Regions from separate parts of the Homo sapiens genome. Here regions 2, 3, 4, 5 and 6 are each linked to region 1. Evidence: promoter capture Hi-C in human tissues and cell types (Jung and others, 2019). All regions are on one chromosome and are shown on one strand. Each heading gives the region's core, a stretch centred on a gene start or on the middle of the fragment in contact. The rest is flanking DNA. Distances are from core to core; before and after follow the strand shown. Region 1 holds the start of TLR10 (toll like receptor 10). Region 2 has its middle 62 kb from the start of LINC02513. Region 3 has its middle 19 kb from the start of WDR19. Region 4 overlaps KLHL5 (kelch like family member 5). Region 5 has its middle 7.7 kb from the start of KLHL5. Region 6 holds the start of LINC01258 (long intergenic non-protein coding RNA 1258).

Region 1 (4,001 bases), core at 787-3,286:
CCCCTTAAGAATGCAGCAGAATCTAACCCAGTTGCTTTAGCTGGAACTCTGCGCTGAGAAGTCAGAGTTTCTATCTCTTACCCACTTCTTCCCCCTGCCCAATACCACAGTCTTATCTGGGACTACAATGGGAGAGGAACTCTTTTTGAACTTCTCTTAATATAACAATAGTAAAGGTCCTATCTCTCAGGCAATACTTATGCATTATGACATTTTATAAAAACAACTTTTACATAGAGACAGGGTCTCACTATGTTGCCAAGGCTGCTCTTAAACTCCTGGCCTCCAGCAATCTTCCCACCTCAGCCTCCCAAATGGGTGTGATTAGAGGTGTGAGCCACTGTGCTTGGCCTCATTAAAGCAATTTTAAAAGTAGGACATACACTTTTTTTTTTTTTTGAGATGGAGTCTCGCTCTGTTGCCCAGGCTGGAGTAAAGTGGTATGATCTCAGCTCACTGCAAGCTCCACCTCCCAGGTTCAAGCGATTCTCCTGCCGCAGCCTCCTGAGTAGCTGGGATTACAGGCACCTGCCATCACACCCGGCTAATTTTTGTATTTTTAGTAGAGATGGGGTTTCACCATGTTGGTGATGTAGTCTATAAATAGTATATATATGTTAATATCATATCCCTACTACTACGTTAAAAGCAGGTAAAAAACAGAGAATGACCTTCCTTAATACATCTTTAATATCTTATAATTTAAAAGTCCAAGTCAAAAGACATCATCAAATGACAACTAGTGTTTTACCAAAGAATATTTAATCATCTAATTTATCTTTTCCCAATGATATAAAGAAATAGAAAAGAGATTAAGAACCTATTGAATGTTGAATGATCTTTGCAACATAAGAGTAAGAATGACTTCTTTTCAGTATTTCCTACGTGTCTGACATGGAGCTAAGTGTTTTATGTCCATTACCTTGTTTAATCCCTCAATGACTCAACAAAATGGCGGCCATTATTATTCATATTTTACAGATGGAGGAGCTAAAGCCCAGAGGTAAAGTAACTTGCCCAAGATGACCAACTGAAGAAGCAGAGATTTGAACCCAGACCTGTCTGGTTCCTTCTGGATGGTAACTAAACCCAAATGCAAGGCACCTCAAACCTTGAAATGAGGTGGCTTAAGATGTAACGACATCCTAAGGACCGAATCACTGAGGTTGAATCCATTGATCTGACCAGCTGCCATGGCGGCCACTTCCTCCTTTCTCACCCCATGCCCCTGTCTATGAAGCTTCATGCAGCTGCTGTGGGACACTCTGCTAGGTGCCACAAAGTTCAAGAGACTTTGCCTACATGTATAAATATATTCTTAGGAAAGTTATAAGTTCACAAGAATTGAAATAAAACTCGAAGTGCATCCTATTCCTAATTAATAGCTCAGTGTAGGTGGTCTGGGAGAAAGCTTATCAAGAAACCAAATGCTCACAGGTTGTTAACCATCCTCTTCTTTACAGCAACCACATATGGCCCTCTTTGTCCACTTCTGAAGGAAACGGAATAAGAACTGCATTGTACAAGATCCATCAGATCTGCCCCTACTTTTAAACAGGTAACACAAATGCAGAACTTTTCAACGGGGTAAAGGAGCAACAAATATGCCTTAAATAGCCAAAGGTTTCATCCAGCAGAGGTTAACATACGCTGTGGGGAAATAAGAGCTAGAAAAAACTTGCCACAGTGCATAGGACCGTTCAATCTGAATAGAAGAGCTGACCAGGTTTGATCCGCAATCAGTGAAAAGAAACCCACGCTCTCAAGCATCTGCAAGAAATTCCTCAGATCAATAGCCCCAAGGTCACTAATCATTAATCTAGACAAAATAGTAAATACTAAAAATCTAAATAACCCTACTTCCCTCCCCTCAATATTAGCTCAAATTATCTCCTTTTTAGAAAATACCCATGCAGCCCTTATATCTTTTTAATGAGAGTTACAACAAACAAAGCTAAGGTTCTTACCCCACGGCTTGCACTCTCTCAGCAGAGCTGCAGGTGCGTGGATGATTCGTTGACACGGTCAGAATTGGCTGCAGGAGGGAATTGAATCGAGGTTTTCTGTAAAGCTTAAACCCCATCCGCCCTCTTCTGCATGCTACTGGTATTGCATGTTATATATATTCATTATAATCTTAGCACTTTTTTAAATTGTGGTCAAATACACATAACATAGGAGTTATCATGCTCACCATCTTTCTATTTTTATTTTTATTTTTATTTTTTTTGAGGTAGGGTCTCACTTTGTCACCCAGGCTGGAGTGCAGTGGTGTGATCACTGCTCACTGCAGCCTTGACCTCTTGCGCTAAAGCCCGCAAGAGGCTGGGCTTCTCAGTCCCGCAAATGTCTGGGACTACAGGCGCTCACCAACTGGCCTGGCTAAGTTTTTTGTATTTTTTGTAGAGACGGGGTTTCGCCAGTTGCCCAGGCTGGTCTTGAACTCCTGAGCTCAAGTGATCTGCCTGTCTCGGCCTCCCAAAGTGCTAGGATTACGGTGTGAGCCACCGCGCCTGACCTTAAGCATTTTTAAATGTACAATTTAGTGGCATTAATTAAGTACATTCACACTGTTGTGCAACCACCACCACTGCCCATCTCCAAAGATTTTTCGTCATCCCAAACTGAAATTCTATGCCATTAAAAAATAATTTCCCATTTTCCCCTTCCCTCAGACCCTGGAAACTATAATTCTACTTTCTGTCTGTGTGAATTTGACTACTCTAGGTACCTCATGTCCGTGGAGTTATACCATATTTGGTTTTTTGTGACTGGCTTATTTCATTGAGCATAATGTCTTTAAGGTTCATCCATATCATTTCTATTATTATTACATAGAATAATAGAATCTTTCCTTCCTTTTTTAAGGCTGAATACTATTTTGTTGTATGTACGTCCCACATTTTGTTCATTCATTCATCCATCAATGGACATTTGGGTAGTTTTCACCTTTTGGCTCTTGTGAATAATGCTGCTGTGAACGTGGTGCACAAATATCTATTTAAGTTGGTACTTAACATTCTTTTGAGTCTATACCTAGAAGTGGAATTCACGGATCGTATGACCATTCTGTTTAATTTTTTGCAGAACTACCATACTGGTTTTCCACAGCATCTTAGAGCTCTTTGATGATGCTTTTCTTCAAGGTGCAGGTCGGTTATCCCTTTCATCAGTTGGGTGGGGCAGTCATGTGATGATGGGCAGGAGTAGGAATGGTGACTCCATAATTTCAGCAATCAGGCAGGAAGAGGGTGGAAAGGAGTTATCTAGAGCAGTGGTCCCCAACCCCTGGGCCACAGACAGGTACCAGTTCATGGCCTGTTAGGAACCGAGCCACACAGCAGGAGGTGAGTGGTGGGTAAGCAAATGAAGCTTCATCTGTATTTACAGTCGCTCCCCATCGCTTGCATTACCACCTGAGCTCCACACCCTGTCATATCAGTGGCAGCATTAGATTCTCATAGGAGCTTGGACCCTACTGTGAGCTGCATATGGGAGGGATCTAGGTTGCGTGCTCCTTATGAGAATCTAATGTCTGATGATCTGTCACTGCTTCCCATCATGTCAGATGGGACCATCTAGTTGCAGGAAAACAGGCTCAGGGCTTCCACTGATTCTACATTATGGTGAGTTGTATAATTATTTCATTATATATTACAATGTCATAATAATAGAAATAAAGTGCACAATAAATGTAATGTGCTTGAATCATCCCGAAACCATCTCTCCTCCATCTCCAAACCCGGTCTGTGGAAAAACTGTCTTCCATGAAATTGGTCCTGGTGCCAAAAAGATTGGAGACCTCTGACCTAGAGGCCTTTTCTTGAAGTGAAGTGGTAAAATAAGCATGGTATTTTTTAAAATGTAGATCGCAAAGTACGGATCAATTTTTAAAGCAACATTTTTGAGGTTTTTTTCATACTTGACTTAAGATTTAGGTGACTGCTGGAGATCACGAGTAAAGAAGAAAATTTCCAGATGGATTTGTCTACAGGAGGAAT
Region 2 (4,001 bases), core at 395-2,894, 480 kb before region 1:
GTACCAAAAACTCTATTAGAACTAATAAACTTTATAAAGTTGCAGGATACAAAAATCAGCTGCTTTATTTATTTATTTAAACCTTTGTTTTACATTCAGGGGTAGCTCCTCTCTGCTAGGCAAGTTGTCTCAACAAGTGTTCGCTCCCAGCAGGGAGGGTAGCTCCTCTCTGCAGCTGGTTGCCCCATTGTCTGTTCCAGCTCTCAAAAGAAAGGGTAGCTCCTCTCTGCAGCGGGTTGTCCTGTCATCTGTAGCTCTCAGCAGAGAGGAGGCTCTGGAGTGGGTAGCTCATCTCTGCAGCCAGTCATCCTCTATCTCCTGCTCTCAGCAGAGAAGAGGCCCTGGGGTTGGTAGCTCCTTTCTGCAGCCAGCCATCCTGAAGTCTGCTCAGCTCTGGCTGAGCCTGGGGCTTTTATGGGCCTTAGAGGGGAGGAAGTGCAGGCCAACTGGTCCATGGGTGGCCATGGGCAGTCCTGGAAAAGGCACCACAAGTTCCCACTCTGGTCCATGGGACTGGCAGCTTGGCCCCAGCCTTCAGGCCCTCCCTGCCCTCAGCTCCCCCTATAGTTTCCTTACTATGCTCACAGACCCCCCAAACCTGGAGGGGGCCAAGGTGGCAGGGGGCTGGTGTGTCAGCACTGCCCTGAGTGTTTGCACACCTGGCTGGGCTGTGACAGTGCCTGGGCTCAGTCTCAACTTTGTTCCAAGATCACAGTGGGCACTGACAGCAAGGAGAAGCTAGGCAGTGGAAGCAGGCATTTATAAGCCTGTGAAGGTGGGGTGTGGGTCCTTCCTGGGCCCCCAAGAGTACAGGGATGCCTGGGTCCACTACTGAAATTTGGGCAGCTGCAACTGTGCCAGGGGCAGGGCTCCTGCCTGCTCCATGGAGCAGGAGGTCCAGGTCTGCAGCTGCAGTTTGAACGGCTGCAGCTGCACCTGAAAGAGTGGGACTCCCGCCTGCTCCTGGACCATGAGAGCACAGGGATGCCTGGGTTCACAGCCATATCTTGGGTGGCTGCAGTGGCTCCCAGAGAACTCCTGCCCCAACTTGAAAGGGATGGGGCTCCCACTTATCCCTGGCTCCTGCCCACTCTGTGGAGCATGCAGCCCCCTGCTGCACCTCCCTGCTGCAGCCAGTGTGATGGCAGCGGTTGCTCCAGATGGCCCACTGTTGCCATCAATCTCAATTACATGTGGATTCTAAAAGTCAAATTCATAAAATAGAGATTAGAATGGTGATTTCCAAGGTCTGGAGGGTGGAGAGGGAGGGAAATGGGGGGATGTTTGGCAAAGGGTAAAAGGTTTCAGTTATGCAGGATGAATAAGTTCTAGAGATATTATATACAGCATGGTGATTATAGTTAATATTACTGTAGAATATACATGCAATTTGCTAAGAGAATAGCTCTTAAATATTCTCACCACATACAAAAAAATGGTAACTTATATGAGATGATGGATATGTTAATCAGCTTGTGGTAATCATTTCACAATATACATGTATATCAAGACATTACATTGTCCATCTTAAATATATACAATTTTTATTTTGTCAATTATATGTCAATAGAGAACCCATCCCCCAAAATTTGTGGTTTAGAGTTAGTATGAATAATGCCAATGGGTTTTCAGTTCATAAAAGAGTGATCTGCTGACAAAAGAATGAGGGGAGCAAGTTTTAGGAGATGTGTTGACTGAGGAAGTTTCTTCAGAAGGAGCTGCTGTATATTCCATTATGTTTTTTATTCTCTGTTTGATCTTGCTGTCCTGTGGAACTTTGATGTAATTAGGAAACACATTCCTCAGGTTAAATGTGAATAGGATGGGATGGTCTGTGAATGTGCGGGCGCATGGTGTGGGACTGGCGGGCAGCTCCGCCTGCGGACCTGGTGTGGGATCCAGTAGGTGAAGCCAGCTGGGCTCCTAAGTCTAGTGGAGACTTGGAGAACCTTTATGTCTAGCTAAGGGATTGTAAATACACCAATCAGCACTCTGTGTCTAGCTCAAGGTTTGTAAACACACCAATCAGCACCCTGTGTCTAGCTCAAAGTTTGTAAACGCACCCATCAGTGCTCTGTGTCTAGCTAATCCAGTGGGGACTTGGAGAACTTTTGTGTCTAGCTCAGGGATTGTAAATGCACCAATCAGTACCCTGTCAAAACAGACCAATCAGCTCTCTGTAAAATGGACCAATCAGCAGGATGTGGGTAGGCCCAGATAAGAGAATAAAAGCAGGCTGCCCAAGCCAGCAGTGGCAACCCACTCGGGTCCCCTTCCACACTGTGGAAGCTTTGTTCTTTCGCTCTTTGCAATAAATCTTGCTGCTGTTCACTCTTTGGGTCCGCATTGCCTTTATGAGCTGTAACACTCACTGCGAAGGTCTGCAGCTTCACTCCTGAGGCCAGTGAGACCAGGAACCCACCGGGAGGAATGAACAACTCTGGACGGGAGGAATGAACAACTCCAGAGGTGCTGCCTTAAGCGCTGTAACACTCACTGCGAAGGTCTGCAGCTTCACTCCTGAAGCCAGCAAGACCACAAACCCACCAGAAGGAAGAAACTCCGAACATGTCCGAACATCAGAATGAACAAACTCTGGACACACCATCTTTAAGAACTGTAACACTCACCGCGAGGGTCCATGGCTTCATTCTTGAAGTCAGTGAGACCAAGAACCCACCAATTCCGGACGCAAATGTACTAGTATGAGGGACATCATTACATTTAAGGAGCCTGGGAACACGGTTCTCAGGCTTTCGGTTTGGTTGTTCTGCACAATTTTTTTTTTTTTTTTGAGACAGAGTCTCACTCTGTCACCCAGGCTGGAGTGCAGTGGCACGATCTTGGCTCACTGCAAGCTCTGCCTCCCAGGTTCACACCATTCTCCTGCCTCAGCCTCCCAAGTAGCTGGGACTACAGGCACCTGACACCGCACTCAGCTAATCTGGTTTTTGTATTTTTATTAGAGATGGGGTTTCACCGTGTTAGCCAGGTTGGTCTTGATCTCCTGACCTCATGATCCACCCGCCTCGGCCTCCCAAAGTGCTGGGATTACAGGCGTGAGCCACCACCCCTGGCCTCTTCTGCACAATTTTTTAAGTGGGGGGACTCTTTTGAAAGGACTTCAGGCTGAGACTTCTGAAAGCATGTAGTGAAGGGCTGAGGGACAAGACCAGAAGGTGGGGCCTAGCCAAGGCTTTGTACTCGCATTCTTACACTCTCCTGCCATTGTCCCTGTGATGAAATGAGCTTCATACATATAGTTTGCTTGAAAATACACCTCATGGGCCAGGTGCAGTGGCTCATGCCTGTAATACCAACACTCAAGCCTTTGGAAGGCTGAGGCAGGTGGATCACTTTGAGGTCAGGAGTTCGAGACCAGCCTGGGCAACATGGTGAAACCCTGTCTCTACTAAAAACACAAAAATTAGCCAGACATGGTGGCACATTCCTATAATCCCAGCTACTTGGGAGTCTGAGGCAGGAGAATCGCTGGAACCCAGGAGGTGGAGGTTGCAGCGAGCCGAGATCACACCACTGCATTCCAGCCTGGGCGACAGAGTGAGACTCCATCTCAAAAAATGTTAAAAAGAAAAGAAAAAACACCCCATGAAGTGTCCTATGATCAAATTTCTGAGACAGAGGAGAGATATGGCATGCTCCATTGTGATTAAAAAAAACGTGGCTTGTAACCTTGGCTTCTCCATCTGTCAAGTGATGACAATCAATGCAGCAATAACTGCACACCTCTCTCACTTCCTCTCTCTTGATCAAGGAAGACTGTGAGAATTAAGAGTTGATCAGAAAGCAAAGTAACAATGATATGTTACAGAGGAGTGAGCTTGCAATGAGATCTGTGAAATTTGGCAAAGCACAGGAAGTGTCCAATTCAGCTAGATTGGATTGGTGCTAAGGCAGTTTGAGCTTGAGGTTGTCCAGAATCCTTTCTGCTAACGAATGCCAACTACAAGGGGAATCCCTGCCTCACCGTTTGCATATAG
Region 3 (4,001 bases), core at 548-3,047, 380 kb after region 1:
ACCTCCTGGGTTCAAGCGATTCTCCCACCTCAGCCTCCCAAGTAGTTGGGACTACAGGCGTGACCCACCACATCCAGTTAATTTTTTCTTTTCCTTCCTTCCTTCCTTCTTTCTTCTTTTTTTTTTTTTTTTTGGTATTTTTTGTAGAAATGGGGTTTCGTCATGTTGCCTAGGCTGGTCTTGAACTTGTGAGCTCAAGTGATCCACCAGCTTCGGTCTTCCAATGTGCTGGGACTACAGGCATGAGCCGCCACACCCAGCCCACCCAGCTAATTTTTAAATTTTTTTGTAGAGGCAGGGTCTCACTATGCTGCCCAGGCTGGTTTTAAATTCCTGGGCTCAAGCAATCCTCCTGCCTTGGACTCTCAAAGGGCTGGAATTACAGGCGTGAGCCACTGCGCCCAGCCTGAAACTTTTTATTATGAAAACGTTCAGGCATACATAAGAATAGACACAATAGTATAATAAATTCCCATGTGATTATCCCCCAGCTTTAACAATTATGAACATTTTACTCCGATCTTGTGTAATCTCTATTGCTTCCTGTCATCACTGTCTGGATATTCTCCTCCATACATTTTCTTTTTTGAAGAAATTGCATCTGTCATTTTTCAACCTAGAAAATGTTTTTTATTAGTTTGATGGGTATTATACCTTTATTTTTATCAAGATTTATTGCGATATACATGAATTATAATGTTGAAATAAAAAACAATTTCAACCTTGAACTTCTCGTTGCTTAATAACAGTAACAACATTACCTCACCTATTACTTATTGAGTGCCTACTATAGACCACGCATGGCTAGCAACCATCATATATGTTATCTCATCTTTTTAACAACCCTCTAAAGTGGATATTATTAGCTGTATTATAGACAAGAAAAGTGAAGCTGAGAAAGTTATTTCCAAGTTATTAAAGGATTATTACTGAGTTCAGATCAGTTTGTCTGTGTTTTCCACTCTACCTCATTACCTCTAAATATCCCTTCCCTTATATCTACCTACTGAAATCTTCTTATCTATTCTGTCAGCCTAACGAGAAAAAACAGAATACATAATAAAAATCAGAAAATGAGGCAGTAATCAGGGTCCCTAATTTTAAAATTATAAAATGATATAAGACAATAAAATTATATAAAATATCAAATGCATCTTGCAGCTTAAAAATAATAAACTGAAAAGTGACTTTCAGAAGGCATATAATAGGAAAAGATTTGTTGCTTCATAAACAATCAATATTAAAAAATACATGCTGTTTTTCATATAACTCATATGACAAAAAGTGAATGGGATTTTGGAAACAATTATCTAGGGATCAGTGACCTCAAAGTGTGCTCCCTGGACCAGCAAAATCAGCATCAGCCAGGAACTGCAATTTGAAATGCAAATAAGTTGACTTATTTGTTATGAGAAAACTAAAAATCTATTTAAGATTATATGCTTTTTTATTGCTCGATACTGAACAGCATAATAAATGTGTTAAATTTTTTATTTGACCTAAATAAACGTGTTAAATATACACATATACCATATTCATAAATACATAGTAAAATAGATATACATAGGGGCAAAAACCAGAAGGAAATATGCAAAAAAAGTAATATACATTGATAATTGGATTTTGTTTTCTTTTCTCTTTCTTTTTAACTGATTAAATTGTCTCTAAAACTAAATTCCATAAACATTTTTATTCCTATTTTATACATGGGAGCACAGGTTCAGAGGAGATAATTTTCCCAAGGTCAAAGAATCAGTAAGTTCCATGAACTGGGTTTAAAGTAGAGGTTCATGACCAAGTTCAATTTGCTATTACACCATGTGGTCCTTAAGCAAGTCTTATCATTTTACAATAGAAACACTTAAAATATAAATATGTATTGTAAGGCAATGCACAAAAATAAATTTTTTAAGAACCCAAATGTGATGTTTAATATCATGTTTAAAGATCAAATGTGCAATGGTCATTATCTACCAGCTTCGTTTAGTTACTAGGTTTTTGCAATGTTGAAAAAATTATGTTCACAAGCTTGAAAAATGTCTCAGCCAATTTCTTGAAAATATGTTAAATTGACCATATTATTATGGTCAATTTATTATTATGTAATTTTTATTTATTATGTAATATTTATCAAACTTGAGGTAAAAGTGAATAGTAAAAATGAAAAACTAAGATAGTAGAATTTTATAATATAATAAAAAAGATAACAATGGGTATAGTATATCAGTAAGTTCTAGCATTCCTAAAAGACTTCCAAAAAAAGTCCTTTGGTAGGACTAAGGATTGTTGAGTGGGCAATATTAATCATAAGGAAAATGATTAAGAAGAGGGAGAAATGTAAGGTTAGTTAATAAAAATAGAATAAAGTCAGTGAAAGTAGGGGAATTATGTAAGTTACTAAGACCTTATAGAAAACAAAAAAACAAAATCTAACCAAAAAAAAAAAAAAAAAGACAGAATAAAGAGGAGACTAATGTGGAATGTTTACATTCTTGCCTCTACCAGAATTCTAGGCCAAAAGTAGAGCATCAGTTTGACTTTCTGGAAAGATTTCTTCTGAGACTGAATTAATTGATATGGTTTGGCTGTGTCCTCACCCAAATCTCATCTTGAATTGTTACTCCCACAATTCCTACGTGTCGTGGGAGGGACCCAGTGCCAGTGAAAGGTAATTGAATCATGGGGGCGGGTCTTTCTGGTGCTGTTTTCATGATAGTGAATAAGTCTCACGCGATCTGATGGTTTTATAAAGAGGGGTTCCCCTGCACAAGCTCTCTCTCTGCCTGCCGCCATCCACTGAAGATGCGACTTGCTCCTCCTTGCCTTCTGCCATGATTGTGGGGCCTCCCCAGCCCTGTGGGACTGTAAGTCCATTAAACCTCTTCTTCTTCCCAGTCTCGGGTATGTCTATATCAGCAGCATGAAAACGGATTGATACACTAAATAAATATAAGGTGTCCTGGCCATAGGACCCCCTCCTGAGTATAATAAAAATATATGTGGTATTTTAACACAATTAGGAGGTAGCAAGCTCTCTACCCCGGGTGAAGGTCTGGAGAGGAGTTTGGGCTGAGTTTAGTATAAAAGAAGATCTGCATCTTATACCATATGTAAAAACTAATTCTATATTAAAGACTTAAGTGTAAAAAAATTAAAATCATTCAATAAAGTCTCCTATAAACAGATAAAAACTTCAAAGCCAAGACTAGAAACCAAGTAGCTATTTTTAAAATAGACATGTTTAACTACACAAGAATATGAAAAAGAGCTCTTACAAATTGACAATAAAAAAAGAAAAACAACTCCATAAAGTTAGATAGCAGAAGAACAAATTGAAATAGCCAACAAACATATGAAAAGTGTTCAAATTCATTAGCTCTCAGGGAAATGCAAGTTAAAGTAAGAATGAAACTTTATTCCTATCAGACTAGCAAAAATTAAGAGAACCTATGAAAATTGTTGATCGTTTCTGGTGAGAAAGTGAAGGAAAAGTACTTTCATAAGTTGCTAGTGGGAGCATTAAGCATTATAATCTTTTTGAAAATCACTCTGATAAATCTATTAAAATTAAAAATACATATACTCCTCAGCCCAACAATTCTACTCATGGGAATTTATTCCAAAGAAATAAAAGTATGATTATGTTAAAAATATCTATAAGGACCTCAATGTTCTAGTAGCAAAACCCTGAGCATAAAGTGGATGCCACAGGGGAAAGATGAAATGGGATTTGGAGGAATATCCAGAAGATATTATTGAATGAGAAAGGTAAGATACAGAAAAAAAAAAATGTGTATACATTACCATTTGTTCAACAGTGCCACAAAAACACCATTACATATATGGATACACACACACAAACACATATACATGTGTGTGCCACATTTATGGTTTATGACCATAGAGGAAAAGTATGGCAGAATTCATATTAAGTTGCTAACATGTATTGTCTTCTTGTGGGGAGGGGGAAAGGGTTTATGAGGAGGAAGAAGGGAAGGGAA
Region 4 (4,001 bases), core at 931-3,430, 320 kb after region 1:
AAGATGATTAGCTTTTTATTTGTTGGAGGGAATTTTCTAATTTGATTTGATTTATTTAATGGAAGGGATAATATTTTAAGATCAAATTTAGAGTAATTAAATATACTATTACTATGTATGTTACTATTATAATGTAAGCATATGAGTAAAAAACCTCACTATAGCTAGAAACTATAAAGAAAAAGTATTCAAACATATTTTTCAACAGCTGTACTAAGTATAAGGGACTCTGTTTGGTGCTGTGAAAAATACAGAGGTAAAGGCCGGGCAAAATGGCTCATGCCTGTAATCCCAGCACTTTGGGAGGCCAAGGCGGGAGGATCACTTGAGGCCAGGAGTTCGAGACCAGCCTGGCCAATACAGCAAAACCCTGTTTCTACTAAAAATACAAAATATTAGTTGGGAGTGGTGGTACATACCTGTAATCCCGGTTTGGGAGGCTGAGGCACAAGAATTGCTTGAACTTGGGAGGTGGAGGTTGTGGTGAGCCGAGATCATACCACTGCACTCCAGCCTGGGTGATAAAGCAACAGTCTGTCTCAAAAAAAAAAAAAAATATATATATATATATATACACACACACACACACACATATACACACACACACATATATATATACATATATACACACATATATACACACATATATATACACACACATATATATGTATACATATATATATATATATGCATGCAGAGGTAGAAAAAGACTTGTCTATCCCAAATAATTTAGAATTCTGTAGGGTAAATAAAAAATAATAAAAACTATAACACGAGAAAATCTATATGTATAACACAACTATTTCTAAATTTTAGGAAGTTATCAATAATACTAGTGCTCTGATGACCAAATTATAACAAATACTTTAGAATAAGTGTTAGTCAAGATTATAATTCTATAAGGCTAGCGCGGCTTACATGATGTATTAGAAGCTTAGAAGAGAGAAGTGGGTTCTAGTTGAACTCTTCACAATTGGGGGTTAGGTTTTTTTAGAGGGTTTTGTTTTTTTTGTTTTTTTAAACATCTGCTCATCTTAACTCATAAAGAGAACAAAGGAGTCCTGGAATCTTCCAATTCTTAAAAAAAAAAAAAAAGAAAAGAAAAACATAGATGCCTTCAGGCAGCAACTTCCTGAACTCCCTACCGTCATAGTTCCCAAAGTACCCGATCCGTACTTACCCCGCCCTTGCTTATTGCAGTAGAATATGTTCCCTCCTCCCGTGAAAGACAGCTCTTCTGCCTATGCCCTGGATACTGTGCTTTCCTGCCTCCCCACGAACCATAATGAACATGGTTCATTATGTTCGTTATGATCCCTTTCATCTCCTGTATTTTTAGCTGCTTTCCTCTCAACCAGATCCTTTTCATTCACATTTAAGCAAACTCTGAGTTTTCAAATTTTCAAAGCAAAACAAAACAAAACCTTCCTCAACTCTTCTAGTAATTTCTATCTCTCCTTACTTTGATAGCCAGACTTCTCAGAAGAATCTTCTATGCTCACTGTGTTTCTTCATCTCCCAGTCACGTCTCAACCACTCAATAAGGAACCTCCCCCTGAAGTCATCAGTGACCTCTGTGTGGCTAAATCCAATAATACTTCTGAGTCTTCATCTTATTTGATCCTTTCAGTAGGATACTGTTAGCAGACCTACTGCTATAAACTTTCTTCCTTTGGCTTCCATGACACTTAACGCCTCTGCTTTTTTCTCCCCCGCTTCTGGGTGTTGTTTCTCACCCTCCTTTGACAGTTAATCCTTGTCCATTTGACCTTTTCTTACTGGGGCCTGTGTATGCCCTGGAGAATAGTAGGAGATGAGGACACAGAGGTAGGCAGAGGCTAGATCATGCAGGACCTTCATGAAATATAATAAAATTATTATTCTCAATGCTAATAAGATTATATTTTTGTATCTGTAATTTCATAAAATTACCAATCATGGTATAATTTCTATTTACATAACTTCTATATATTACTATGAAGGAGCAACAAGCATTGAAAAGTATGATCTCCGTACAAATATGTGGACTCCAGTAGCAAATATGAATGGGAGGAGGCTACAGTTCGGTGTTGCAGTGCTAGATGACAAACTGTATGTGGTTGGAGGAAGAGATGGACTGAAGACTTTGAATACTGTAGAGTGCTACAACCCCAAAACAAAAACTTGGAGTGTGATGCCACCTATGTCCACACATAGACATGGCCTTGGTAAGTACAACTATGCAGATTCACTCAAAATATCACATAGCTCCCACGGCACATTTACATTCTGAACCAGGCAGAGGACCCGTGTGGCAGCCACTGCGTCAGCAGCAGTCACCAAGCATTCCTCACATGCTGCAATAAAGAATTTGGTAGGTCATCATAAAAGATGAGGCCGGATGCAGTGGCTCATGCCTATAATCCCAGCAATTTGGGAGGCCAAAGCAGGAGGATTGCTTGAGCCTAGGAGTTCAAGACCATCCTGGGCAACATAGGAAAAAAGTCTCTACAAAAAATTTAAAAATTAGCTGGGAAATTTTTTTTTTTTAATTAAAAAATTTGGTGGCTTGGCCTATAGTCCCAGCTACTCAGGAGGCTGAGGAGGGAGAATCATTTGAGCCTGGGAGGTCAAGGCTGCAGTGAGCTGTGATTGTGCCACTGTACTCCAGCCTGGCAAAACATCTATCTCAAAAAAAAAAAAAAAAAAAAGGATCAATACCAGTGAAGGTATGGTTGAGTTTAGATAGTATGGTTTATACAATACTCAATTTATTAATACCACCAGAGTAGAGGCTTCCCCCAAATAACAATAGAGAGTAATGAAAACTCTCTAGGGATGAAGATTGAAATGGGAATGGTGGTGGGTACAGTAAAAGATCAAAGAGACATAGATTTCCACTAGTTGTAATTAGTTCTCAGTGAAAGATGATTTTAAGTTTGATAAGGAAATAAAACCAGAGGGTTAAGGCAAAGACACAGAGAAGGAGCTTAAAATTAACTATATGAAATTTAACACAGTAAACTTGTAAAACATTACTCCTGAGTCCATAAAATCAACTATTATATAGGCACAGACTGGGAAAATGTGAGTTAAGCATGAATGAGACTTAGAAATTTGGGTTGACCATAAAATCCAGGGTAAATAGAGTGAGTCAACTGCGTGCTTCCCCTCCCCTACCATGGGGAAGAAAATATAATTCTAACACAGGCTAAATCCTTATGGATATAGTACATAGAATGTGATTGCTCATAGTCCAGCTGTTTCGTGCAGATGACATTGTGCATTGAATACTGTCATTAGTTCTAGGTGCCATACAAAAGACTTTATTGAACTGCAGCAAGTTGAAAGGAAAATGATCACATAGCTCAAAACTGTCTTCTTTAAGCCCTAATTTAAAATTTTTGTGTCATTCAAAGCAGCAATGTTCTTATTAAGTTACCTTATAATTAAATAACTGTTACAAATTTGAACTTAAGAAATAAACTTTTTTTTTTTTTTGAGACGGAGTCTCGTTCTGTTGCCAGGCTGAAGTGCAGTGGCACAATCTCGGCTCACTGCAACTTCCGCCTCCCGGGTTCAAGTGATTCCCCTGCCTCAGCCTCCCTAGTAGCTGGGACTACAGGCATGTGCCACCACGCCCAGCTAATTTTTGTATTTCCAGTAGAGACACGTTTCACCATGTTGTCCAGGATGGTCTCGATCTCTTGACCTCGTAATCTACCCAACTCAGCCTCCCAAAGTGCTGGGATTACAGGCATGAGCCACCACGCCTGGCCTAAAATAAACTTTTAAGAAACATTCCTTTTATCTCTTCATATGTGGTAATTATATGAAAATTTCATTTAAAAAAGGAGTTCTGCTAAATTTTTTTTTTTTTTGAGACAGGTTCTTGCTCTGTCACCTAGGCTGGAATGCAGTGGTATGTTTTTGGCTCACTGCAACCTCTTCCTCCTGGGCTAAAGCAGTCCTCCCACCTCAGCCTCTCTAGTAGCTAGGACTATAGGCATGCACCATCACAC
Region 5 (4,001 bases), core at 784-3,283, 270 kb after region 1:
TTAAAAATCCTGAATTCCATGCTAAAGATCTTAGCTTTTATTTATCTTGTAGCTGATCAAAAACAAACAAAAGTAAATGTTTTAAGTAGAGTGATGTAGTCAAGAATTGCACTTTAGAAGGCTACTTTGGCGATAGCATGGAGAATAAGAGAGGATTTAGACTTGAAGTTGGTTGGTTCATTTCTACTTAATATTTGCCTTTCTTTGGGGAGCTATTTCTCTGATAAGCAGAAAGAAGGAATACTCAAGTCCGTGCTCCGCAGGAGTTTAGAATTGATGGCCTGGTTTCTGCATGGTTCTTTGGAGAGGCCTGAATCAGTTTGTCCTAAATTTATTTGTCATCTCCTTCCCCCCATTGGAGTTTGGGAGGACTACTCTGAAGTGCCTCCTAAGAACATTGGATTTAATCTAATGCATGATTAACACTAAGAAATTCTAGCCTCGACTGATCTCCACTAATCTCCATTTGACCACTAACATCCTCATTTTGCTTTTTGCTGAAGTTAAATTATTGAACAGGTTATTGGTGGCTTTTCTTTGGGTCTAGTTTTAGGGCAAGCTAGGCAGTTTCTTTAATGGTTAACTGGTTTAATTAACATTTGTAGTGATTAACCATTTCTAATTATGAGCAGTTGAGAAATAGTGCTTCACATTTTCTCCTCTTTATTGCTTTCACTGCCCATTACTACCCTTTCCCTACCTGACTTATGCTGTTCTAACAAAAATAGATAATTTACAAAATCTGGATTGGTCCTACAGCAGAATCAAGTTGATCTGTGATTGGCTCATTATGTGATCAGAGAGCCCAGGCAACTTTAATTGATTATACTTGTGTCTGGAGAGTACTGATTCATTATTTTTCAGAAAAAATTTTTTTTAATCTCCATCACCATAAAGCTACGTGAAAGACAGAAACACTTCTGGATTTGGTTGAAGTCAGTAAAAGACAAATTTGTGGTTATCCAGATTGTTACTTTTTATGGCACATAAGATAATTGGGTGTCTCAGCACATGCCAACTGTAATGGATCAGGCAAGAATTTAGCAGTGGTTTTCCATCATTTTTTTAATGATATTACAGTTTTCTTCCTTGTGCACAGCAAATATGTGCTTAACACTGACAAAAATCTAAGGAGTGGATAGCAAGGGAACCTTGTGTTTTACCAGTCATCAAGCTGAAGGAATGTTTTCAAAAGTAACGATTTTGTTATATCATAGTAGTATCAGCTGTAATAACTTTTACAGGTGAGCTTAAAATAAAGGCTATATAATATTAATTTAGCTGAGTTTTAAAATGTCCCTTGCTTTACTACCAGGTATCAGTACTGATAGGTAGTTGTGGAATAAAACGATTCTTTTGATGTTACTGTGGGCCAGTACTTTGTAAGAAACAGCAGCAGCAATTGGGAGGGAGCTAAGTAGGGAGAAATCTGTGAGGCACTTGTACTTGGTGAATAAATGTCATTTTGGCATTTAACTGCAGTTACGATGAACTTAATTTAAGTTTCTTCTTATTTAAGAAATCATGTGTTCCTTAAGTATTCTGTTCCCCCTCCCCGCTGCCTTTTGTGCCTTACTTGCTTTTAGTTTGGTCAGATATTATCGGCAAAGAATTTGTCTGTTCTGCTACTCTCTACTAGACATCTAACCTTGTCCAAGTCAACTATACTCTCAATCTACTTCCTCATTTGCACAACTACTCTACCTGCCTCACAAGGTATTTTTGAGTAGTGAATGAGAATACTTCTTGCTTTGAAAGCAAGAAGCACTGTGGTGTATTCGAAAGTATATGGTTTTTAGGGTCCATCCTGGACCCTGCCACTCACCAGATATAGGTATTAAGTCAGGTTAATTAATCTCACTTCAGTATCTTCATCTATAAGGAGTGGTGGGCTGGGGGCAGGAATGACCCCTGTTGGACAGAGTTTTTCTGACAACAAAATGCCCCAGTCAGTGTAAAGTATTTTATATATTATTGTGCTCATTTGGGCACTTAAGAGATAGTAGCTGCTGCTATAAATCCTGACCGTTACTCAATACTTAGATGTGCCACTTACTTAATCCTATTACTGAAGAGAGAACTGAAGACAAAGGAGGTGAAGTGATTTGCCCAAATTATACAGCTAGCTGGTGAGTGGCTTAGCTGTTGACTCAGGCTCTTTCTGCTGTGTCACTTAGGCTACCATTAATAAGTGATAATGTGGGAAAATAACAGCAGAAGCGCTCTCCACCAACTGCTTCTGAACTGACTTACAGCTCTAACTTGAGGCACACTCTTCTGCTGTAAAATGTACTTACTGATAGCATGGGCCAACTGAACACTCATGGGTAAGCAGGCAGCTCCATAGCTGACCTGTACATCTCTGCTTACTCGTTGAATTGAGTACTTACCAGAAGTTGGTTCTGTTTATTCACAAACCTGTTTTTAACAGTTATACTTGTTATAGTAATTATAAAACATTAGTAAACATGTAAATTGATGAAAGTGTAAAGAAAAGATAATTCTTCCTATGAAAATTAAGTTGAATGCTTTGGGATGCCTCTATATAAATGAGTTATTTTAAAAATTCTATCAAGTTGGATAAAGGCTGGATAATTCTAAGAGACTAGGGAAAAAGTCATCAAAGTCTAAAGCAGGGCCTGTCAAAGGCCATCAACCAGCTACCTGGTCTTCAGACTACTAGGGGTCCTCAAGAATATAAGGAGTGCACATTAGAATATTAATTAACTACATTAGGCAAACTAATGCACACTGGTTCAGCAAATGTTTTGTTTTCATGGTGAGACTTTCTCCTTGAAGAAAGCGATGCATTAATTTACAATCTGGCACAAGTTTTTCCTGTGGTGGACAGACCACTGGTCTAATGGATTCTGTATTCATATTATTTCAGAAGTGCTTTTAAGTTCTGTTTCCATTTATAGAAACCATAAGTGGAAATCATAGATGATGGATCATTGTGGGTACAGCTTATGCAAGACAAAGGACCCAAACTCAGTAGGAGACCCCTATCAAATATATGGCATTAACCCTATATGAAAAGATTTACAAATGAATGTGCATGTATATGTTCAAGTTAAAATAACATCTTTAAAGGAATGTATTTATTATTTTTATGATTATTGACTTTTTTCTTTAGTGGACCATCTACAGGTTTCATCTGAAAAGGGGGCTTTCACTGTACTCAGAGTTCCAGGTTGACTGGAAATAAATCTTTGACCTCTGCAGCTGTCTAAGCTTGCCTTGCTATATCTTAGCTTATCATATGCATTCTGTGTGTATCTTCGTCATGCTGTATTATAATTTTTAAATTTAATGTCAGTTCCTGCATTGTACGTGATATGGTAAAGGGACATAGTTTAGTTTAAAGGTTAAAGTTTACTCCATTTACTTTTTTTGCCTTGATTTTTTTCCTCTTGATCTTCCCTCGTATACTTATAGGTATATATTACAGTGATTTATTTAGGATACACAAAGAAATAAAATCCCTATATTACATGGCTTTTACCATGAAGTCATCTTCAGTTTTCAGCATATATCAAAGTCCTTGACTGCTTAGTTTTCAGTCTACCATGTGGTTTGTAGAGCCAGATGTCTTGGTATAATACAACTGAATTTAAATTGTGTGTGTGTATGTGTATTGTGTCAATCTTGCCCTGTTGCCCGAGCAGCCGTGCAATGGCACAGTCTTGGTTCACTGCAGCCTCCACTTCCCAGGTTCAAGTGATCCTCCTGCCTCAGCCTCCTGAATAGCTGGAACTACACTGCATCCGACTAATTTTTGTATTTTTGTAGAGATGGGGTTTCACCATGTTGGCCAGGCTGGTCTCGAATTCCTGACCTCAAGTGATCCACCCTCAGGGGTGCTGGGATTATAGGCATGAGCCACTGCACCCGGCCTGAATTTAAATTTGACATTTTAAAATTTTCATTTACCAATTAAATTAGAAGTATTTCCCAGTTGTTTTTAACAAAGTGAAAGATTTAACATGGTGCTAGAAATC
Region 6 (4,001 bases), core at 419-2,918, 260 kb before region 1:
AGAAGGACTCTGACAACATTTTGATCTGGTCTTCCAGACACCAGAACTGGGAGATGATAAATTTCTGTTGTTTAAGCCACCTGGTTCGTGGCATTTTGTTACGGCAGTCTTTGCACGCTAATAAAGGGGCCAAAGAGGAGGGGTTCAACTCATTTGCACCAGAGCAGAAGGATATAGGAGCTGGTGCTTTGAGTTGGAAGGGGCAAAGACCTAAACCATGTAAGCTGATTTCTCAGTGTTATGAAGCGGGGTGGAGGCTTGGAGTTTCTTTGAAATCCTTGCCCCACTTACACAGGGCTTCCCAGACATTGGGGTGTTATCATGGTTACATTCTGCAAGCTGCAGCCTCAAACCCTGGAAGAATGTCTGTGACAAAGCTTGCAGATAGTAAATCAGGCCACCAGGAAAGGAGATCCCCTGGATTTCGGTGTCCCAAAGGCACCAAGAAGGATAATGACCACAAGTGATGGAGAAGGGGCCAGCCGGACACGGTGGCTCACGCCTGTAATCCCAGCACTTTGGGAGGCTGAGGTGGGCAGATCACGAGGTCAGGAGATTGAGACCATCCTGGCTAACACGGTGAAACCCCATCTCTACTAAAAATACAAAAAATTAGCCAGGAGTGGTGGCAGGAACCTGTAGTACCAGCTACTTGGGAGGCTGAGGCAGGAGAATGGCATGAATCTGGGAGGCGGAGCTTGCAGTGAGCTGATATTGCACCACTGCACTCCAGCCTGGGCGACAGGCGAGATTCTGTCTCAAAAAAAAAAAAAAAAAGGGCCTCCTCTCTCATTTTTTAAGCACCACATAAGTCCCAAGGAGCGTGTTATTATAACCTTATGAAAGAGAATGGTTTCCCTAAAATGTAATTGTGATAAGATTTTTCAACCCTTAAAAGCAAAGGCTCAGACCCACAGTTAATTGAGAAATGTGACTTTTTTTTTTTTTTTATAGAGACGGGGACTTGTTATGTTGCCCAAGCTGGTCTTGAACTCCTGGCCTCTAGCAATCTTCCCACCTTGGCCTTTCAAAATGTTGGGATTATAGGAGTGAGCCAACACATCTGGCCAGAAATGTGACATTTTTGATCCAATGGTTGGGGTTCAAATTCAAGCTTGTTAAACAAATTAAGAAAATCAAAATCACCTATAACACGTCGTCTTATACCCATAACTTTCCAGAACACAGGTTGGCTCCTACAGATAATTTTACAATAGGCAGAATGCTAGCAACATTTTATGAGCTGTGGTATGCTTTCTCTAGGCTGTCTGTGATAGGTTGCCTTCATGGAGAGTCCAAAATCAAGACTGGGACAAGGGGGCTGTTGCTTAAGGCTTGAGCCAGATGTTGGATCTCCCCAGCAAGAGCATAGGTCATTTCTGGGACCTTCCCTTTCATCCTCACCAGAGTTCAACATCCACTCTGACAGGGAAAATGCAGAGGACCTACCATGAGCACATGAAATTCTGAAGCGTAACCCATCAGGCTTCTCCTCAGCCTGGCCCTCAAGACAACTAGGTCATCACTGATTCCAGATTCTCCTTATTCCAGACTCCACCCCCTGCAGTGTTCTACGTCTTCTGAAAGGGCCGGTGCAGGGCGCCCATGACTTGTCATTTTTCCTAGGTCAGCACATCCTTGTTCTCACCACTGGAAGTCAAGGCTGAAAAATCTGATTTGGTTCACCTGGCTTACTGGCACTATTTACTGGTGTGCACAGCAGATTTGATTTATGATAAGTCTGTTGAAAATGTCACTTTGGGGCTTTGAGGTGTGGTGGGGGTCGGGGGTGGATGCTGCATTTTGTTTTGGAAAAGAGGGCAGGACTTTTGCCTATGCTTTTCAAATAGGAGGAAAAATTAAGTTCACGGTTTGATTCCTAAAGAATCAAAAAGTGGAGCTAGATAAAAATCATACCAATAGGCAATTGGGAGATCCCAAGCCTTTTTCTTTTCCAGGAGAAACTTGAGTTTGAGTTTTCAAAATGAACGAAATATTTCCAAGGAAGTAAAAGTGGGCCTCCTTTGCCGGCCATCCCTCTTCCCCCATACCCTCTTCCTCTTTTCTCCTCCCTTCCTTCCCCTTTTCTTTTTTCATCTGCCCTTCAGTCACCATCTGTACTACTGTAGGAAATGGGAAAAAGACCTACGCTAAATCAGCATCCTACTCTACCTCTTACAAAGTCAGGAAAATATCTTTTTAAAAAAATGTTTGAAATTAATGCGCACCTATCCAGATCTCTGTTTGAACAAGGGCTGTCATTTCTGATAAAGGCACGGTTTTCCGAGATCGTGGAGAGCCCAAGTGTGGAGCTTTAAGAACCCTGACAACCACCAGTCTTGTTTCGGGTCATGAGTGCACCATTGGTTACCCTGATGTTGAGTCAGCATTCTCCAGACCACATAAAGGTCAGGTCTATCTTCACAAAGTGAAAGTGCTGAATTATATCGAAACCATAGAAAAAAAAATAAGCCAACCCTGCCTCGAGTCTCTAAGTCTCTGCTCCGACAGTTTTGTTTTTATCTGGAATTACAGTAAACTCATTTCGGCATGGTTGCGGCATGTGGTATTCTGAGTAACTGACTCTTCTACCTAATTGCAAGTTGCCACATACTCTCTACAGCCCTTCTTCCTTTCCCTGCGCCAGCTCCTCTGTCAGTTTCACCCGCTTGGCTGGGTCCAGACTTGTCTCCTTTTCTAGGTGGGGCAATAGATCAGTGGCCTGGGATACACCATGGTAGGTGGGACTTCAGAATTCAGGCACAGGCCAGGCGCACTGGCTTACACTTATAATTCCAGCACTTTGGGAGGCCAAGGCTGGCAGATCACTTGAGGTCAGGAGTTCAAGACCAGCCTGGCCAACATGGTGATACCTCACCTTACTAAAAATTCAAAAATTAGCTGGGCGTGGTGGCGGGTGCCTGTAATCCCAGCTACTCAAAAGGCTGAGGCAGGAGAATCGCTTGACTCCAGGAGGCGGTGGTTGCAGTAAGCCAAGATCGTGCCACTGCACTCCAGCCTGGGTGACAGGTCAACTCTGTCTCAAAAAAAAAAAAGAAGAGTTTAGGCACAAAGTCAACCAGAGTTGGACTGTGTGCATCCTGGGAGTCCTGGAGCCCCTTGGGGAACTCCTGCCCACCCTGTGTTGGGGGCAAAGAGTCAGGAAGGTTTGTGCTCAGATTCTGCCTCTGCTATGGCCTCTGATTACTCTGTGACCGCTGGCAAATTGTGACCTTACCTGTAAAGTGGGGACACTAATACCCCCTCACAGGACTGTTGAAAGAACTGGAGATGATGCATGTAAAATCATTTGGCACAGAGTAGGTGATCAGTGAATGTTGGTTCTTTTCTTGTGTCCTCATCCCCCACATCACAGCCTGCTCAATAATCCGGAGCCATGTCCCAATCTCTCTTCCTCCTTCTAGGATGGTCTCTCCCCGCCTTGGTGCCTATCTCCTCTGAAGGAGGGTGAGCTTCTCCTCCCACTGGGCTGTACAGCTCACCTGGCTGCACTGGCTGCTGAGCTTGGGGCCACAGATTAGTATCCTGGCTGGTTCCCAATGGCTGAATTACACTCACTAATGCCAATTGGTGCCGATGCTGGTCTTAACTTTGCCTGAGTATGCACTGTCCTTTGACCACTATGCCTCAGGCCACCGGGCCTCCTTCCCCAGCCTGGCCTCTGCAGCCCGAGCAGAGCCTCAGGTCACTCCCCATGCTCAGAGGAGCCCCGCATCTCATCTCCCTCGCTCCCTGCCCACCCACCTCCCTGCTGCAGTTCCTGCCTTTGTGCCAAGACCTGCTCCCGTTATGTCACGTGCCCTCCATGGATGGCTAATTTGCAAAGAATCAAAACTCAGAAAACGCATTTATAACTTAACCATATTGAGTCTAACTGTCTCTTTGATCATTTCAAAGGCAACTCAGGACCTTAAAAAGCCTCAGAATTGGCTTCCTAAGCACCAAGCCTTCTGGAAAATGGAAAATACAGGAGTAGGTTT

Evidence for each region. The method cuts DNA at HindIII sites, captures the fragments that hold promoters and counts their contacts. A contact is called where the count stands out against the background at its distance.
Region 2: a fragment that was not itself captured here is called in contact with the fragment with the promoter of TLR10 in region 1 in 4 of the 25 tissues and cell types used here (dorsolateral prefrontal cortex, lymphoblastoid cells, small bowel and 1 more).
Region 3: a fragment that was not itself captured here is called in contact with the fragment with the promoter of TLR10 in region 1 in 1 of the 25 tissues and cell types used here (dorsolateral prefrontal cortex).
Region 4: a fragment that was not itself captured here is called in contact with the fragment with the promoter of TLR10 in region 1 in 2 of the 25 tissues and cell types used here (dorsolateral prefrontal cortex and lymphoblastoid cells).
Region 5: a contact is called between a fragment that was not itself captured here and the fragment with the promoter of TLR10 in region 1, in 1 of the 25 tissues and cell types used here (lymphoblastoid cells).
Region 6: a contact is called between a fragment that was not itself captured here and the fragment with the promoter of TLR10 in region 1, in 1 of the 25 tissues and cell types used here (lymphoblastoid cells).

The regions. Positions count from the first base shown.
Region 1 is chr4:38,780,954-38,784,954 of GRCh38, forward strand. TLR10 (toll like receptor 10) reads right to left here and starts at 2,037. Exons shown (of 4, transcript NM_030956.4): 1 at 1,968-2,037. RefSeq lists enhancers at 917-1,126, 1,189-1,358. The HindIII fragment of the contact is 2,112 bases long and covers 610-2,721 here.
Region 2 is chr4:38,302,808-38,306,808 of GRCh38, forward strand. No RefSeq gene overlaps it. Among named protein-coding and RNA genes, the nearest start is that of LINC02513, 62 kb to the right of the region's middle. The HindIII fragment of the contact is 7,017 bases long and covers 1-4,001 here.
Region 3 is chr4:39,161,498-39,165,498 of GRCh38, forward strand. No RefSeq gene overlaps it. Among named protein-coding and RNA genes, the nearest start is that of WDR19, 19 kb to the right of the region's middle. The HindIII fragment of the contact is 5,116 bases long and covers 1-4,001 here.
Region 4 is chr4:39,101,305-39,105,305 of GRCh38, forward strand. It overlaps KLHL5 (kelch like family member 5), which reads left to right. Exons shown (of 11, transcript NM_015990.5): 7 at 1,983-2,207. LOC105374418 (a long non-coding RNA gene) reads right to left here and starts at 459. Exons shown (of 3, transcript XR_925235.4): 1 at 420-459. The HindIII fragment of the contact is 7,362 bases long and covers 1-4,001 here.
Region 5 is chr4:39,052,504-39,056,504 of GRCh38, forward strand. It overlaps a transcript of KLHL5 not described here. Among named protein-coding and RNA genes, the nearest start is that of KLHL5, 7.7 kb to the right of the region's middle. The HindIII fragment of the contact is 5,541 bases long and covers 1-4,001 here.
Region 6 is chr4:38,521,654-38,525,654 of GRCh38, forward strand. It overlaps LINC01258 (long intergenic non-protein coding RNA 1258), which reads right to left and starts at 1,527. Exons shown (of 8, transcript NR_110951.1): 1 at 1,450-1,527. RefSeq lists an enhancer at 2,701-2,750. The HindIII fragment of the contact is 4,596 bases long and covers 1-3,966 here.